Regions from separate parts of the Homo sapiens genome. Here all the other regions are linked to region 1. Evidence: promoter capture Hi-C in human tissues and cell types (Jung and others, 2019). All regions are on one chromosome and are shown on one strand. Each heading gives the region's core, a stretch centred on a gene start or on the middle of the fragment in contact. The rest is flanking DNA. Distances are from core to core; before and after follow the strand shown.

Region 1 (4,675 bases), core at 1,463-3,962:
AGGGCCTGTTGGAGAACAGGTTTTGCAGACACAGAAACCTGGGTTCAAATTAATGTTCTGACACCCATTATCTGTGTGACCTCAGGAAGCTACTTGTCCTATGCATCTTCACGTATACAGCAGGTAAAATAATGTTGACCTCACAGGTCCTGTATGCAATGAGTATCCCATAGCACCTTAATGTAAAAGTCAGTTGATGGTAAAACAAACAAACAAACAAAGTTGTCACTGATGCTATACACAACAACCAGTGCTGAGACAAAGGAGTAAAATTATAATCTGGTTGCTGTTAAAATTTCTGAACTGTTTTACATCATCACTAACTCAATTCACTTGTTTTTTCTATTCAAAAACAGGGTTTCAAGTCTCAACTTCAATCAGTTTCTCATTCTACTAACATTTTCATCATCCCACAGCATCGGCTTTATCATACTCTATCTCTTAAGAAGAGTTTCCAGGAACTTTTCATTTTAAATCCGCAATATGACATCTCCTCCTCTTTGGCTTTAGGTCCCTAACTCTCCAACTTTATCTTCTACTACTTCAGACCAGCTCTTAGATTTAGTTGGGTCAGAATTCTCACCATTCAGGAATACAGAATTTATCTCAAAATTGTGGTGTTCCATGAGACTTGGTCCCTGTACTCAAGGGGCTCAGAGTATGGACAGAGAGACAGACTGACTATACTAGAAGGTAATAAGGGAGTTGGCTATCTGTGCGAACAAAGCTTTATGGGAAAACAGATGAAGGGGTGATTAATTCAGCCGGGGGTGGGGGTGTGGTGGGTGGAAGTGCTGGAAAAGGCTTCAGAGGGGAAGTTACACTTGAGTCAGTCATTTGAGAATGAGCACAATTTCATTTTGGGCAGAGGGAACAGCATGACCAAAGCCTGAAAGTGAACAGTCCTCATCTAAAGTATTCTAGCAGATGGCAGGAGGGAGGGCTGAAGGTGGAGAGACAACTGATGAAGCTGGCAAGAGCCAGGCTGGGAAGTGCCGTGAGGCTCTATGAAGAAGCCTAAAAGAGCAGCCTTCCTTCTCCTGAATTCCTGGAGCAACTACTCTTTGTGAACTCATTTTGGCCATAATTTTTCATGCGTGTACTTACAAAAAAATCTCTACAAGTGATTTATAGACCTGCCTAGAGAAACAGGGAAAATCCCTGATGTTCATTTGTTTCTCAGCTCTTCCTGTGAAGTGTAATACATGGGACTGGAGAAAACATAGCACAGAGATTAACAGTACAGAAACGAGGTTCGAGTTCCTTCTCTGCTGTTCCCACTGTCCTCACTGCTAACTAGGTGAAATCCAGCAAGTTATGGCACTTCTAAATATCACTTTCTTTCACTGAAAATGGGAATAATGACAGTTTCTATATAATAGGACTCCTAGGATGATTCAATAAGTCCTTAGCAAACATTGCTACCCAATTAATAGAATTAATTGACTACTTACTATGAGGCAGGACCTGTGCTAGATTCCTTTTTTTGGAGGGGGGATGGAATCTCACTCTTTTGCCCAGGCTGGAGTGCAGTGGCGCCATCTCAGCTCACTGCAACCTCTGCCTCCCGGTTTCAAGCGATTCTCCCTCCTCAGCCTCCCAAATAGCTGGGATTACAGGTGCCCACCACCATGCCTGGCTAATTTTTGTGTTTTTAGTAGAGACGGGGTTTCACCATGTTTGCGAGGCTGGTCTTGAACTCCTGACCTCAAGTGATCAGCCCGTCTCGGCCTCCCAAATTGCTGGGATTACAGGCATGAGCCACCGCACCTGGCGAAGGGAGAACTCTTAATGCTTTAACGGATTTTGCAAGTAAAGTCTGGATTAGTCAGGGTAGGTGTGAGGATCAAAGGGGAGCTTCACCCTACTAGCCTTGGCTCCAGTAGTTTATTCAATTACATTCAGCAGCAAGTATTGAACACTAATGATATGTAAAGTACTGTGATATAAAATAGTCCATGTCCTCAAATAATTTATAATCTTGTAGGAAAAATAAGACATACACAAATAAAAATAATGCAAAAACTTTAAGTTCCTTGAGAGAGGGCAACAAAGAATGATTCAAAGGCAAGAGAATCTATCCTATGGGATATATCCAAAAAGGCTTCATTGAAGATGTCAACTTGGGGATAACTTTGAAAGGCAGGATCTTAGAGAGGGAGGAATGTATCATGGAAAGAGGAAATAGAAATGTCTTGGATCAGCCTGTGTCCCCTTTCACTATAAGAGCCTGAAACAATGTGGCTTGTCTGTAATAGACACGTGAATCTCCACTCACGAATTGAGGGACTCCAGTTTGTAATTTATGTCCCCTACAGCCTACCTTTCCTTTTCTGCCCTGTGCTTAACCTAGTACATTGTGATGAAAGGTGGGACCTGGCCAACATAGTTTCTTCCCCCAAAATCGAAACATTCAACTTTAGGTTAAAGGTGGACACTTTCCCTAGTATATCTAATGATGGGCTGAGGCTCAGAGCTTTGCAGCTAAGCTCTGGCCTTATTGACTTAAATCATTTTAATGACACTTTAATATTAAAGAGTCACTGGGCCCAGTGTCTGTGAAATGCTCTCTGTGCCCTGCCTCTGCTAGAGCAGACACTGTGTGCAGGAAAGAAGACAAGAGAATGTAGGACAAGTCCTACTGGCCTTGCAAAGGTCCCACCCCCTAGTCCCTGTGACGCATCCAGTGCAGGTGACATGTTCTCTAAGGTGTGGATAGGCAATTAATTTCATGGAGAGTAGGAGGTGTGGGTTCAGCTGCTGCTTTTTTTTTTTTTTCAGTGAGGCATTATCTGAATGATGCTCATTCTCTCTTGAGTCTGGACTTCGTGCAACAAGCAGCAACTGGATATTATTTTAAAATAAGCATAAGCCACCCAAAGATACTGATCTGGGTCCTTCTTTTGGAAGAAGAGTTGATTGAGAAGTGCCTCTTGGTTAAGGATTAACCACAGGGAAAAATCCAGCAGAAACAGAAGAACTGTGGGTTTCTTACCCCAGCCCTCAAGGAAGCTATGCCGTGAAAGGGGTACTGATACACTGACATACAGCAAGTTGGACGGGGCATCAGTTCTTCATTTGTGGAGTGGAGAAAAGAAGAGGAAATCTCTCATTTGGGGCATTTGAAGGATGGCTTCCCTGTTTCATCAGCTTCAGATCCTGGTCTGGAAAAATTGGCTAGGTGTAAAAAGGCAGCCGGTGAGTTAAAAAAAAGTGTGGGAGTATGGGTCATGGGGCAATACGCCAGGTAATCCTAAAATGTGATCTTAATGAGAAGTGAAAACAGAAGAGTTTAAAGGCATTTTCCAAAGCAGGAAGTAAGATATTTAGAATTCATCCCCCTATCTGTCTTATAGCTAATGGAGCGAGTCTTAACATGCCCCCAAAAGCAGCCTTTTCATTTCAGTAAATTAAAGAGTAAACCAGGACATGCCCTGGGCAAAAAAAAAAGAACATGACTCATTACTGGCTGAACTGGAACGTTGAATTCTGGTTTCAAGCCAAAAGGCTTTCAGAATTTTTCTTAATGTAGTTAAAAATGGGATAGAGGAAAGAAAAGTATTATTTGAAATGTACAATAAATGGGAAGAAATATACTGGAAAACTGAAAGCCATAGAAAGTTTGGTTGAAAGGTAAAATACAGAACAGAAATAGTTTGAAGGCTATTAGTATAGAAAAGCTACTGAGAAATTTTAGTATCTAAAAATCATTTACTGGGAATACCAAACAAGAGTATGTATATGTGCTATGTTTTAAGAATATTATTGAATCACTTAGCTTTACTACTACAATCTATCTTCTCTTGCTCATTGCAACGTCTTTTTTGTACTCTTACATTAATGTTTGCGTTCTAATTACAAAGTTAGCTATTAGATCCTCATCAGATGGCTCCCAGGATGATTGAGAAAGGAATTGGTTTCTGGGAGTTGTTATATATTCAGAAGAATGTTTGAAAATCGGGGAAATCCAAAAAGGTATTCAATATACTTTATTTTAAAGTGGTAATTCCCAGCCTTGAATGAGTAATGTAAATATTATGCAAATAATATGCATCACACAGAAACCAGCACTTTATCTATGCACCTTATCTCGCTCCAGGCTTGCTTGGATTGCCTGACACTTTACTTGAGTGTTTTGATGTGTGTAGTAAGAGGAGGAAGTAGATGTTCATTTACCCTTGTGAATTTTGTGGGTAGGGTTTTAAAATTCTAAGGCATGTGATTGCATGGGTGTGGGGTTTGAATATAAAATTATAAACTCATTCATGTTTTTATTTGTTTTTTAACTGGAAAAAAAAAAGCACAGAAGAAAACCTCCCCATAATTATCATGTGGTTGATTCTGTGTGGCATAAGCAGGGAAAGGATCCTGGGTGTGTGGATGTGGTCATGTGGTCAGAGCATGCGAGTTGGGGCCCCTGCCACTGCTCCTCATGTAACTTAAGTAGCTTAAGACAGTTTCTCTAAGCACTGTTTTTCCCACCATGATGTGGCATGATGAGTTAGACGTGACATGATTAGTTAGATGTGGCATGAAGCCTGCCACATCTAACTCATTGGGGGAAGTACCAAATGTGCTAATGTATTTCAAAGTGCTTTATAATACTGACACACTTAGCAAATAGATTAGTGAGGGATTTGAGGCAATGTGTGTCATATTTTATGCAGATTAATAA
Region 2 (4,675 bases), core at 862-3,361, 1.9 Mb after region 1:
TAAGTTATCAACAGTGAAAAATATACTCCTTTTTAAATGTATTTATATTAACTTCATGATTATTTAACATCTTTTTCCCCAATTTAATATGTAGTAAACTTAAAATACACCCTTTTATCACTTTGTATTTTTAGTTAAGAAGGTTATAGTTATTTCAATTAATGTGTAGAAAACTAGATATTGTTATGTAAAAACTTCTACTTTAATTAGGCAACACATATTTTGGAAGACACATGTGATAGCCACGTACACAAAAATTTCATAGTATTTCTGATCAAAAAAAATTCTAAAACGTCAAATATAAAAAAATTGACCAGAAATTATAATGACAAGAACATGAAATGTCTTAATTAGTGACACTAATTAAGTGTCAAAATAATAAAAATAGTATACAAGTTATAAAAGTAATCTCAGAGAAATATACATTCAGTGGAGAAACATACAGCGACATTTTCTCTGTTTTCTTTCTCCCTCCTCAGAGATTTAACGGGTTGCTTCTCTCATCCTAGTAACACTGGATTTGATAAGTATATAGCAGTTACCTATGGTTGTTTATTTCATTATTTTGCCATAAATGTTATTTACTGACACATGTTATAAAACTATTCTGGTTTTAAACATAAGCATTATTTAAAAAATAGTGGAGCATTATGAAGAAAAAGTTTTCAAAATTTACAATTTGATGATAAAAATCTGCATGAATAGGTCAAACTGGATATGCAGGAAGTCTGAGAAAATTAAAAATTGTGGAAAAACTCAGAAGTTTCAAATGTGATTTAGCTTTAATTATAACCAAACTCATATCCTTTCATACATCTGATCTTCATATTAAAAATAAAATTCAAAGGTAATGTGGAAACTGAATTTCATTGAACATTATATACTTCATTTATGAGAATACAAGTTTGCAGACAAGGGCTTGTGGGGTGGTGTGACAATGATATAATGGAGAAGTAATGATCTCAACACAAAGGAGCGCATTTCTTTTCAGCTTTTATTCTCTGTGTGTGTGTGTGTCTGTGTGTGTGTGTGTGTTTTGTAATAGTAGTCAACCTCTCTACCAAGCTTCTCCTCCTTGTAGGTCACATGATATGTAGGATTCACCTCCTCCTCCTGTTCCACTAAAGGCTTATCCTTTGTAAGTAAGAGACTGGTAGCTGACTAAAGCGACTCACCTACATTTAAGACCTATGATTACAAAATTGGGAAGGGTTATGTTTCAAAAAGTGAATAGTTTACTTTTTCAAATACAGGATTAACACATTTAGTGTTCTGGTCACAACAAGCAACCTGGCTTCACAGCCATCCTCAGAAAAGTCGGGAGTTCCACTGAGAATAATATTTCCAAACTAGAAGTGCTTGAGCTCTAGGGCCTAAATTGTAACTTAAAAAAGTGCTAATAAATTGAGGAAAGTCACTTATCCTCCCTGTTCTACAGCATTCTTATCTATGAAAATGACATGATGCTAATTGTTGCACAGTCTTAATTGATCATTTGTATTAGTTTTATGTGTCTATTCATACCTCAATTTCATCTGAAAATAAATTTGGGACAGCTTCTAAAATAAAAGGAAAAAGATTAGGTTAAAAAGTTAAGTAGGAAGATCAGAACAAAAGGAAATATAAGGAGAGAAACAAAAAAATCAAGTCAAGGAAAGGATTGGTAGACAGTTTGCATGACTTTACATTTGAATATTAGCTTCTCCATAGCCAATGACTCTCATCTTAGTGTAAATTGATGTCCTCATTGTCAGAGATAAGCTGTTGATAGTGAGAAAGAGTAGAGAAAGCATAAAAACCCCAACTGCCTCAGGCACATAGGATAAATGTACATTTTTAAATTATATTACAGTTTTGCCTACACTAGAGCACACCCGAAAATAAATAAGATAATTTCTAAAATTTAAAGTGGGTCAGTATTGTTTGGCTCTGGCTATGTAACCAAACTGCTATATAATCTTTGGGAGGCCGAGGCAGGCAGATCACGAGGTCAGGAGATTGAGATCATCCTGGCTAACACGATGAAACCCCGTCTCCACTAAAAATACAAAAAAAAAAAAAAAAAAAAAAAAAAAAAAATTAGCCGGACGTGGTGGTGGGCGTCTGTAGTCCTAGCTACTCGGGAGGCTGAGGCAGGAGAATGGCGTGAACCTGGGAGGCGGAGCTTGCAGTGAGCTGAGATGGCAATACCGCACTCCAGCCTAGGCGACAGAGAGAGACTGTCTCAAAAATAAAATAGAATAAAAAATAAAATGAAAACATCATAATTCCGGAAGTTGAAAGATCTTTTAATTGATGCTGACATAGGAAACAATCCTATAAAATATTTGCTTTTCTGATACTATCATCACTAAAACATGTAAAATCGTCATGGGTAACTGACCCTTGCAAATATTTTCTTTCATTTTTTGCCACTCTCCAATTTTTGTCTTCCTCAACTCCAAATTATGGAAGCAGTTTTCGAGGTCTTACAGATGCATTTCCTTCCAATCCAAAATAAGCCTTAATGATGTTAATGTCAGAAATTAGTTCCATAGCAACTATTATAGGAGCTTTCACATGCACACACATTTCTAGAGAAATGATGTTTGTAATTCACAATAGTACAAAGAAACTTAAACTAAACTTATCTTTTGCCTCTGGTACAAGAAATAGGAGTACTTCAAAGATCTCGAGGAAGTTTCTTAAGAGCTCTCCCTAGGTCAAATAAGTTGTATTATTTTGCTCCCAAGCTCATGTTATTTTAAAGCAAGATCCAGAGCCTGGAAGTGACACTAACTCTTCTATCAAAGTGATTTAAATGATCATACTTTCCGAAGATTAAAAAACTAGAATAATTTTGCCACTGTATTTTACAATTTCCTTTCTCACATATAAAATAATTTTATTATTCTAAGAAAACCTGCTGAGTTAATATGGGAGACATTTCCACTACAAGTACTAAAAAATCAGTCACCCTTACAGTTCATAGAAAGAAAATCAAATTCTATTTTAGTGAAGTTTTCATAACAGCCTTTTGGTAATAATGTTGAAGAATCATGATATATTTAAGAGATATTAATTCTAGTAATAGTCATTTATCTTTGATGTCAGAGAGAGACAAAGGCTTGGGAAATAGAAGATTTACGATGACATATTATAGACTTACTTGGTAGATGTTGGATTTTTTACTCTTCCTCTGAAACGACAGATAATGAAGCTTTATCAACTTCCTTTTATTAAGGCTAAAAATATATCCTATAATAGGATCATAAACATTTGATGAAAATCACAGCTGTACTGAATTTTAAAATTAGGTGAGGATGGGCAAGTAGTTCATAGAAAAGTAAATCAGCATAACTCTCATACACTATGAGTTTACAACCCAGCTTGTTTTAATTTAATATATCTCTGGCTCTGACCTCTTTCCTGTAGTCCAGATATATATTGCCAATTTCCTGAATGAATCTGGATGTCCAAAATGAGTTGATTTTCCTCCCAAGCACATCTGAGACATGTCAGTGGAGAAAGCTCAAATTTAAGAAGATAGAACAGGATGACTGATCTTCCCTTTATTCTTCCCATTGCTTTCTGGGAAGAAGATTAAAATTCTTATTGTTATATCTCTGCCTTAAGTTGTATTCCCCAGAAACAGACTCTCGGAAGATGACTCATGTGAACACGATTAATAGAAAATTTTCCCAGGAAAATCAGGGGCATGGGGTGTGTAGCAAGGAAATAGGACTAGTAAGGTAAGAAGGCTAAGGAGGGGTATATTATAAAGCAAAGTTTCATGGAGGGTAACTTTGTCTCTGTCCCATAGAGGATATCTCTAAACAGTGTGGATCACACCTCAGACTTATCCTGATCAAGCCACAATGGCTGAAATATTTAAACCCCTGAACCTATCAGTGATTGGATAAGAACTACTCCTGGAAGGATATAAGTCCCCAAATACTTCTACCACAGTGGAAAAAAGTAGATTCCGGCAGTCAGGGGCCATCCCTGCAATAAAAAGACACAGTGCTGTCAATGTGAGAATAAAAACACACGTGGAGACAGAGAGCCTGGGAATGTAAAAAATTCAAGCAAGCTATGGCAGTGCACTGACTGTCTGCTTTAATCTACATACTGGTCACAATGTAATCTTATTTTCCTAATACCTACCCCTTTATCACTTTCCATTTATTTACTCATTATTTTCTTCTCCTTTATTCCTTCTATGTGCATCCTGCAGGTGGGGTGAGGTCCTGGGACATCAATGTCTAGCAGTAGAGTGCCACCATAGGTTGGCACCAAGGTTGCAATTCCTTCCTTCCTCTCTGTTCTACTGCTTAATAAAGTCAGGAGATATACATCGTTGGCCAGCTCAGTATTTTAAAAACTTGAATATGAATGCCTTCAGATGAGGTCTTTTTTTTCTAGTTCACCAGAATCTCCTAACACTATCAGTTAGGATTTGATTCAACTGCATGTAACAAAAAACCCAAAGTAACAGTCATTCTCAATGTAGGGTTCACGGACCAGTAGTATCAGCATCATGTGGCAGTCAACAGGTACTACAGTTCTTTTAAGTCATGAAGAACCCAGTCATCTCTCAGCTTCATGGCATAAGAACGCTGCTTTAGCAGCATCCATCACCTCCCCATTCCAAGCAGCAGGTGTGGAGGAAGATGCAGGGGAGAAGATGCAAGGG
Region 3 (4,675 bases), core at 1,353-3,852, 1.9 Mb after region 1:
TAGATTGCAAAAATTTTCTCCCATTCTGTAGGTTGCCTGTTCAATCTGATGATAATTTATATTGCTGTGCAGAAGCTCTTTAGTTTAATTAGATCCCATTTGTCAATTTTGGCTTTTGTTGCAATTGCTTTTGCTGTTTTAATCATGAAGTGTTTGCCCATCAAAAAGTGGGTGCTCTTAATGCAGTGGGAATGTACCCTGTGTGTCATAAGGGCTACAAAATACTGTTTTTCTATGTAAGTTTTTGACGGGGGGGTTTATTAACTTTAAGGTAGAAAATAAAACTTCTTTGTTGACTAATGCTAGGAAATTTTCCCTCCCATTTTTTAGAAAATAAGAACCCATAATTCCCTGCTTGTTTCCTGTAACCCAATATAAATATCCTGCCTAGGTATTCTCTTATCCTCTATCTCCCCCATTGTTTCCCCCGTAGCAGCAGCTATGGTTAAACGTGTTTGCTTTAAATCATTAGTGTTAATGTTTCAGGGTTCCTCATTTACACGTCACTTCCATGGCCCTAGATGATACCTAGGAATGTATTTGTACTGAAATAAAGGTTTGAAAATTTTGCAAAAAATATGATGTTTTACTGTCAATTAAGATGTCTCTGTCCATTCTAATGTCCTCTCATGACAGTTCTATCTTGTATAATGGGATATTAAGGTGGTCACCAGCATTTTTGGTGTCCTATGCCCACTCCATTCCCTTGGTGACTTACCCAGGATTGTGCCAGCAATGTGAAAAGGTACAGGTTGAATTTCTATATGAATATGTCCTATGGTGCTGAGAACCAAAAGAATGTGTGGAGTGGAAGATGAAAATGGTTTGAAATGTGTGGACCCAGAAGCTAGCCCATAGAAAATTCTTCCAAATATCAAGCCTGTAAAACTGTGAGCAAAGAATTTTATTTTCATAGTTGACAAGTGAAAACAGAAATATTCTCCTGTTATGAATAAACTCGATAATGCAACATTTACTATTATAAACACTATAATAGGTAACTATAAATCACCTATTCCCTCTGTTTTGAAAATATTAAAAATTCATCACATACACAAAAAAGTTATTTTAAAAAATCATATAAATGTTTTTTAAACATACAAAATAACATTTTTATTGAAAAAATAGGCAGCTGAAAATGTAGGCCATAGGTGTGTTATAAACAGCTGAATTTTAAAAAATTGTATTTTTTCTGAATTTCGTGATAGTTGTGTTTGTCAGCTTTTCAAAATTTGTTATTTATTGTAATTTCTTTTTTATCATTCAAAATAATTATTAAATTTTATGCTCAGTTTTATTATCATAATTTTTTCTTTTTGTCTGACAGTACCCAGAATGATACAAATTTGAAGTCCTACAAAACTGGATTCTCAAGTAAAGAATAGAAATAATACTGGAGCAGTGAAATTACAGATAAAAATCCTATGCAGTATTTCTTAATGGGAGGTGGGTGATTTTGCCCTCCAGGAGACATTGGACAATGTCTGGAGACGTGTTTGGTTGGCCGGATTGGAGAAAGTACTACTGGCCTCTAGGAGGCAGAGGTCAGAGATGTTGCTAAAATACGCAAGACAGTCCTGCACGACCAAGAATCATCTGATCTAAAGTGTCAATAGCTCCAAGATTGAGAACCCTTGGTCTGTGTACTGAGAACGCCAGACAGAAGATATCAGTGCTGATACAGGATATAACCATTCTGACATGAACTGGAATAAATAAAAAAATTAGATGTAGATTATCCCTAATTGCAGGAGCAGATGATTGAGAACAGGTATGATGGCAGGAGACAACGAAACCAGAATTAGCAAATCTATTTTCCTAACATTTCTGCCTGAAATTTTGACTAATATCCCAGTAAGAGAAGACTGATAGGTAACATTGAATTTACACTGGCATCATGCTGCTCTGTAATATGCTGTTGCTACATCTTTGTCTTTCTAAGTCCACTTGGAAACAGGAGCTAATAATCCTTTATAGAGGTATTACAAAGATTTCAAAAGTCCCCAGTACTCGTTCCTTATAGAGTTCATTATACTGTGTTAAAACTGGGATGGGCCGGGCGTGGTGGCTCAGGCCTGTAATCCCAACACTTTGGGAGGCAGAGGCAGGCGGATCACGAGGTCAGGAGATCGAGACCATCCTGGACAAATGGTGAAACCCTGTCTCTACTAAAATGTACAAAATTAGCGGGGCATGGTGGCATGTGCTTGTAGTCCCAGCTACTTGGGAGGCTGAGGTAGGGGAATCACTTGAACCCAGGAGGCGGAGGTTGCAGTGAGCCAAGATCGTGCCACTGCACTCTAGCCTGGTGACACAGCAAGACTCCATCTCAAAATAAAAAAGCAAAAAACAAACAAACAAACAAAAAACAAAAAAAATACTGGGATGGTATGAGAGGCATTAGTTGAAGTGCCTCCTTCCCATCTCATACTTCCACACAAGTATGTTACCCTAGAAGGCTAACAATCAATGTCTGAAGGAGAGAAACTATGTAGAAGAGTGCCTATGGCGGAAGGTGTTTGCTTTGTTTTGCTTTGCTTTGCTTTTCACCTTCCTCTTAGATCAGGTAAGAGCTTCCAAGAGGAGTGGAAGAAGAGAACCTACGGAGTCAACATTGACAGAATGTCACCCTGGTATGGGAAGACTTGGGTCTTGTTCTCCTTTAGGTCAAGTGGGTGATGGAGCAAGGAAGGTAGAGAGAAAAGTAGTAGACCGCTACATAAGAGTGCTGATCCAAGACGAAAAAAGAATGGCCCACTGCACATCTGGAACTCCTAGAAGCAGTTGCCTCGCATGTGATCCTAGTGCCAGAGTGCAATGGAGCTGGAGAATAGAGATGGCAGCATGAGATGCAGGTCACAGTTGGGTAACCTGAGGCAACCCCAGAACTTTCTACAGCCTCATGATTTAAAATCCAATTCAGACAGAAGGGAGCAAGATGAAACCCTGAACTTAACTGAGTTTAAACCTCAAATGCTTGAGAGAAACTTCAGAAATAACTAAAATCACCTGAATGTAAATAAATCACATTTTCAAGTTTATAGATTGTAAAAATCACACACTACACATGTATGGTTTCTGTACTTCTCAGCTAATCTTTTGTATTGTCTTGCTGAAGTCTCAAATTAAAAAATAAATGTGACCCAGCAACAAGAATCTTCAGGTATTTTTCAAAGCAAGGCACAAGTAGAACAGAATAATATTTTTAGGAAACGTCTTGGTCCCTAGAGAAGGTGGAAGAGAGAATCAATGCCCTGCTTAAAAGACAAGCTGACTGAGTAGTCCCTGGCAGATTAAACTTTGAAGAGCAAATTGTCAGGCTTATATAGCCAGCTGTCCTATTTAAAGCTTTAACAAATAATTTGCTGAACGACATACTAGCCTGTATATGGCAGCATACCAGGAACAGGACACAAAGAGGTATAAGAATGTTGCTCCACTCCAAGGTACACACACGAACCTCTCCTATTTGAATTACAGTATAAAGCGCCTAAAACACCTACAGAGATAATATTCCTTGTCTTACATGGATTCTAATGAAAACAAAGAGGTCAAAGCCTTGAACTTGATAGACTTGAACCAATTTGAAATAGAAAGTAGAGATAATTTTATCTCAATAGCTCTAATAATAAGGCTGAGGCATTCAGCACCAGCTGCAAGCTATTTTGCCGCTAATACCAACCATAAATACAAAGAATAGCAATACCTATAGAATAGTAGAGTTGACTGATGCCAGGCACCTAGACAAAATGCAATGTCGGAACTCTTTTAATCTTCCTGTAAACATGTTCCACCTTTGTTTATACCATTTCAGTTTAAATACAAAATTTTCAAATCACTTATTTAAATTTGGCTTTTTCTTGGCTCTAGTAGTGGATTAAATATAATGTATAGAGGAATCATAGAGTGTACCCTTTATGCCCAAATTACTTGGACTAAAAATGTCTTTGTAACAGATAAAAGACACTCCTAGTATGTTGAAGAAAATCACAAACATGTACACAAGATCAAATATAATAATTATCTTTCACTTTTTTGAGTTAAAGGAAAGCACAATAGCAAATAAAACAAAAACAGATAATCACCCTAGAATTGCTTCCAAATAATTCCTCTATCAATGCATTATTTCACACCATTAATCAACTATGAAAATCCTTGAAAGGCAGACTAGATCCCCAAGATTGAAGCAAAATGAAAATCCTAGAATTGCAAACCCTATTTTTTTGATTGGAACAAAAACAAAAATTGCAAAAGAAGATTGACATGCCTAATTGCTCCCGTGAAAGGAACAATAGCAAGTAGTTTTAGAGAAATGCTTAGAAATCCATTTGTGCCTGTCAATAATATCCACCTTTTCAAGCTGCTAATCCATTAGTCACTAATGGCTGACTTGGTATTAAGCTGGACAATACAAACAGCCCATTCATTGCAGGGAAAAGTAAAGAACTAAATTTTTGTTGTTGTTGCTATTATTGTTTTGCTTTTTTTAGGATAAAAAGTAGCAGTAAATGGATTTGGGATTGACAAAAAGAGCTGAGGGAGGTAATTTCAACAATTTGCAAGAAAATGTAAACACAGATAATCTTCCCCATAAAAATTAAGTTGACTCTAACTTTCATGATCACCGTTACGTTATACATGCAATACTATTAAAGAGGGATAAGAAATATCAAAG
Region 4 (4,675 bases), core at 1,624-4,123, 1.3 Mb after region 1:
AAAATATTGACAGTAAGAATCTAAAGGAGAAAAACTCAATGAAAATACTAGATAAGGCCGCGCGGTGGCTCACATCTGTAATCCCAGCACTTTGAGAGGCCGAGGCGGGTGGATCACCTGAGGTCAGGAGCTCAAGACCAGCCTGACCAACATGGTGAAACCCCGTCTGTACTAAAAATAACAAAAATTAGCTGGGCGCGGTGGCAGGCGCCTGTAATCCCAGCTATTTGGGAGGCTGAGGCAGGAGAATCGCTTGAACCCAGGAGGCAGAGATTGCAGTGAGGTGAGATCACGCCATTGCACTCCAGCCTGGGGACAAGAGTGAGACTTCATCTCAAAAAAAAAGAAAATACTAAAGAAGGAAAAATTACTTAAAGATCTTAGAGTGTTGGAGACGTGGGATTCAGACCTCCTGGGATTGAAGAAAAGAACACCAACATTTCACTCAGATGAGAAGCACTGGCAAGATGGAGGCCAGTTTTAGAGATGTGGCAGCTAGACACTGAGGACTGCCCAGAAGATTCTCATTTTCGGCTGGGCACAGTGGCTCATGCCTGTAATTCCAGCTACTCGGGAGGCTGAGGCAGGAGAATCGCTTGAACCCAGGAGGCGGAGGTTGCAGTGAGCCAGGATCAAGCCACTGCACTCCAGCCTGGGCAAGAGAGTGAGACCCGGTCTCCAAAAAAAAAAAAAAAAAAAAAAAAGATACTCATTTTCACTGAAAATTAGGAAGCAATGCTGTTTGATGAACAATGCTGCTAGAGTGTCCTAAGAGAAGTGAGAGGAGAACATGTTTACAATAGTCATTTCAGACTGGGGAAATTGAACTGACATGAAAAATCAAGCTTATTAGGCAGTGTGAGGCAAATGTAAGTTGAAAATTTTGTAGCACTTTAGGGCTGTTAAAACAAATAGCTGTATATGATCCTTTCAACACACTGAGGGAGGCACAACTGTTGCTCCTTTATGAGAAAACAGAACTTCAATGAAGTCAAATGGAATATTGCACAGTCAGTACAGTGAGTGCGATTTGCTTCCGTCAGCAAAAGCTATGGGATTCCTTGGCACTTTTATTTTATGTACTTAATACTATGAGCCATTGCAAAGTAGTTCTTACTTCAATTCTGTTTTCTGTAACAAACAAACCTGTAAAGTTTTGTTTTGTTTTTAATTGGTAACACTTTTAAACAACATTTCTGAGAATTTGTCTCGATGAATACTGGCTTGGTGTTTTAAGAAAAAAGAAAGACACATTTGGCTTGGGAAGCTATCTTGTTCTGAAATAATTTTGAGAAAAGTTGGCTTCCAATGTGTTGCAAAATACTCAGTCTTTAATATGTTAATGAATGCTTTAACTTCAATACAGGATGACATAATATGTACAAAATATTTAAAACATTTATTCATGAACACCTTTTTCCATTAAGTACCTTGTAGGACTTACTTTCCACAGAATAAACTTTGCAAAACGTGACTTAAAACATTTTTATACTCACTCCTAATCCTTTCCATTAAATGATAAGGGCCTGTCTTAACCATGCTTGACTTATATTTTGGAAGAATATATTTTAGAAAACCCATATGGATATTATAAATACTTTTTTATTTGAAGTATTTAACGTAGATTTCAGAATGAATATTTTTCATGTTTAGGATTAGAATGCACACATTTCTTCTCCCATTCAAGTTTCAGATTTATGCAACTCTGACCACTGCTGAGAGAACACTAGTCTAATCCCTTTTACATGGTTTAATGCTCTTATTTTGTGTATCCTTTAAGCTGTTGTCAAATAGTCTTCCGTAAATATTATGATTATCTAGTCAGGAGTTGAATCTGATGTACCATTTTATTCCTTAAAACTATTTTCTTTGTATAAAAAAAGAAGTTATACTAAAGATAAGTGACATTATTTGCTTTCCACTTTTACCAAAAATGCCTCATGATTCAAAAATAAGGGGTATATGCAAAGGATTTATGTTTTTTTTTTCAAACTTTAGTTTTCTTTAATGAGGAATTTATTTTTTCACTGCAAGGTTAAAAACAAACCCACACACACATTCCAGGTTTGGATTTGTAAAGAAGCCTTGACTGTAAGGATTTCTATATTAGTTTTGCTCTAAAAGAAATTTGGCAATCAAAATGAAGGCTTGTTTAATATTTTAACACTTATTACTATGTCCACACCACTGAAAACTCATTGCTAAATTAACCACAATTGGAGACCATTTCAAATTGCTTCTAAAAAAAATCAGTGATAATTAAACCACCAGGGATTTCTCAGTGGATACTTATGTGCTATTTTCATCTAAAATAGTATTTCTAATTTAGCTGAGTAGAGAATAGATTAAAGCAAAATACTCAGGCAGCAGCTGGATGATGAGTTAAAGTGAGACAACAAAGGTCAGAACAGGCAGAAGAAAGTTATTTCAGACATCTTGATGTGCATCTTCAACTGATGTGACATAATCAGAATTGGCCCATGACAAAATCATTATACAGGCAAAGATTACCTCTTACATCTTAAGCTACCTTCATTATTCTACCTCTATGCATATACACACATGCACACACTTAGACCATACACATAGATGCTTGAGGATGCATATGTACATATATACACAATACTGGTATGCTCACATTGTATATAATTGGTGTTTTTCACCCACAAAATAAAACAGACCAAAACAAATATTATAATAACTGTTAGAAGACTAATATTAATATTTTAAATATATTAATGAAAATATAAGTACAGAAGAGGTAGAAATTAACAAAAAAAAGAAAAATAATCCATTAAACCTTCATGAAAGATATAATATTACACCAAAAATATGCTTTTGGTTATAACGGTCTGAGTTATGGAGAACATTGAAGCTAGTGACGGCAGTTCTTTACAAAGAAAATGTTCAGAGAATGATAAATGATCCACTGGACTTGAACCTAAATAAGTGTTGAGAGTTGAGAGTTGGAGATGAGGAGTTAAAAGTTTATAGAAGTGAAATTATAGAGCTGAAAAGATAATTTTGGAAACTATCGTGGAGAGTCTTGAATGCCAAAAAATTGCATCTTATTTTATAGGCAGTGATGAATCATCAGTGATGCTTAATAATAAAATTCATGATTAATTTATGAGAATAATTTTGGCCATAGAACAAAGGTACTCCACTGGGGAAAGAACAAGGGAGTGGATGATGTTGTGGAATTAGAAGGTAACTAAAATAGCAATAATCAAGTTGAATAATACTGAGGGGACAAAAAAGATGAGAGATCATTTTTGAAGGGCAGATTTTAATTAATATAAGTGGTTAAGAAAGATCTAGAAAAGTGAAGAATAAAAATAATACCACAGTTTTGACTCAAAATACATTGGATGATAATGATATCGTTACCGAAAATTGGAGAAATTAGGGATTTACAAATTATTTTTAACTTCCCTGCTTTAAAAAGAATTTGAGGCAAAAATAGGTGAGTATATTTTGGGTTTGAAAGTGAATAAGTAGATACATTCAATTTTAGTTGAAAAATCAATCTATTTGGAAATTCTAGCATCATAGAGCTTACGGACAAAGTATAATGGAGATACAAGAAAACCAGGGAGGGTTCCTTTGCAACAAAAATAACCATTACATCGTGTGAGTGAATAAGGTTATCACTGAGCCGAACTGTCAAATGTTGAATGTTGTGCTGGAATGGTTTGTCTTTTTAAGCTGCTTTTCAAATAAAAGATAACACATAAATTGGTCTTCAAACAATGTCTCCAACAAAATAATCACCTTGTGTGTATTTTTCAGGAAAGATGCCACACATACTCTCAGATAAATCTGAACATAAAGGCAATGATCATTCTCAGCATTGCAATATTACTTTTTAAATGAGCATAACTATTAGTCATTCTTATTGGAATAAGATATTGGAAAATCTCAATGATAAAGCACATAAATGACTGAAGTCAAATTTATTAAAATGCTGATAAAACATCAAGACCCACACTAACTGTCAAAAATGGTGTTCATCTTACTAAGTTGTTAACCCAAAGTGAAATACTATAGCCTACAGAAAGGATGGTTTTACTTCCAACTTCAAAGTAATTAAATAAATGAGTACACTTATTGAAAGGATTTTTAATCTATTTTTCAATTCCATACATGCATTTTTAAGTGCTTCAGTACAATTATGGTGATTAAAATGGTTCTTCCAAATTATTTGCATTCAATTGCTTATCTTTAAGTATACTGACATTCTTCTTTCAGTGACAGAGAAAACAGGAAAAACGTTCAGACTCCTGTTTTTCATCTATCTTTATAAAGCAAATGATGCTATAAAAACAGAGAGAAGGAATTATACTACTTAGAATTAATATAAATGGAAAGATTCTACCTATGGAAATTGCACAATAATTTGAGAATCACTCATAAAGACGTCACACAAGTATATCATCAATGTCACATCCATAAAACAAGCAAACAAAAACAAATATAAGAGCTGAGAGATGGGTTTAGATGTTGTCTTATTCCTTTCAGCATTTATTAATAATTGAGTATATTCTAGGCAATATTTGAAGCAAGTTTTGAACAGAGGGATTAAGTCAGCCTATACCAAAGGTCCCAGTGATGTAGTCTATTCTAAGGCCTTCCTGTGAAATTTAGCATATCAGGCTCCTCTAGGGGAAGAATT

What was found. The method cuts DNA at HindIII sites, captures the fragments that hold promoters and counts their contacts. A contact is called where the count stands out against the background at its distance.
Region 2: a fragment that was not itself captured here is called in contact with the fragment with the promoter of ABCA12 in region 1 in 1 of the 25 tissues and cell types used here (lymphoblastoid cells).
Region 3: a contact is called between a fragment that was not itself captured here and the fragment with the promoter of ABCA12 in region 1, in 1 of the 25 tissues and cell types used here (lymphoblastoid cells).
Region 4: a contact is called between a fragment that was not itself captured here and the fragment with the promoter of ABCA12 in region 1, in 1 of the 25 tissues and cell types used here (H1 embryonic stem cells).

Annotation. Positions count from the first base shown.
Region 1 is chr2:215,136,663-215,141,337 of GRCh38, reverse strand. ABCA12 (ATP binding cassette subfamily A member 12) reads left to right here and starts at 2,712. Exons shown (of 53, transcript NM_173076.3): 1 at 2,712-3,198. The coding sequence starts at 3,130. The HindIII fragment of the contact is 12,690 bases long and covers 1-4,675 here.
Region 2 is chr2:213,221,007-213,225,681 of GRCh38, reverse strand. No RefSeq gene overlaps it. Among named protein-coding and RNA genes, the nearest start is that of LINC01953, 56 kb to the right of the region's middle. The HindIII fragment of the contact is 4,523 bases long and covers 1-4,372 here.
Region 3 is chr2:213,252,086-213,256,760 of GRCh38, reverse strand. No RefSeq gene overlaps it. Among named protein-coding and RNA genes, the nearest start is that of SPAG16-DT, 30 kb to the left of the region's middle. The HindIII fragment of the contact is 4,005 bases long and covers 600-4,604 here.
Region 4 is chr2:213,788,606-213,793,280 of GRCh38, reverse strand. All of the region lies in intron 10 of SPAG16 (sperm associated antigen 16), which reads right to left. Among named protein-coding and RNA genes, the nearest start is that of MIR4438, 33 kb to the right of the region's middle. The HindIII fragment of the contact is 5,751 bases long and covers 1-4,675 here.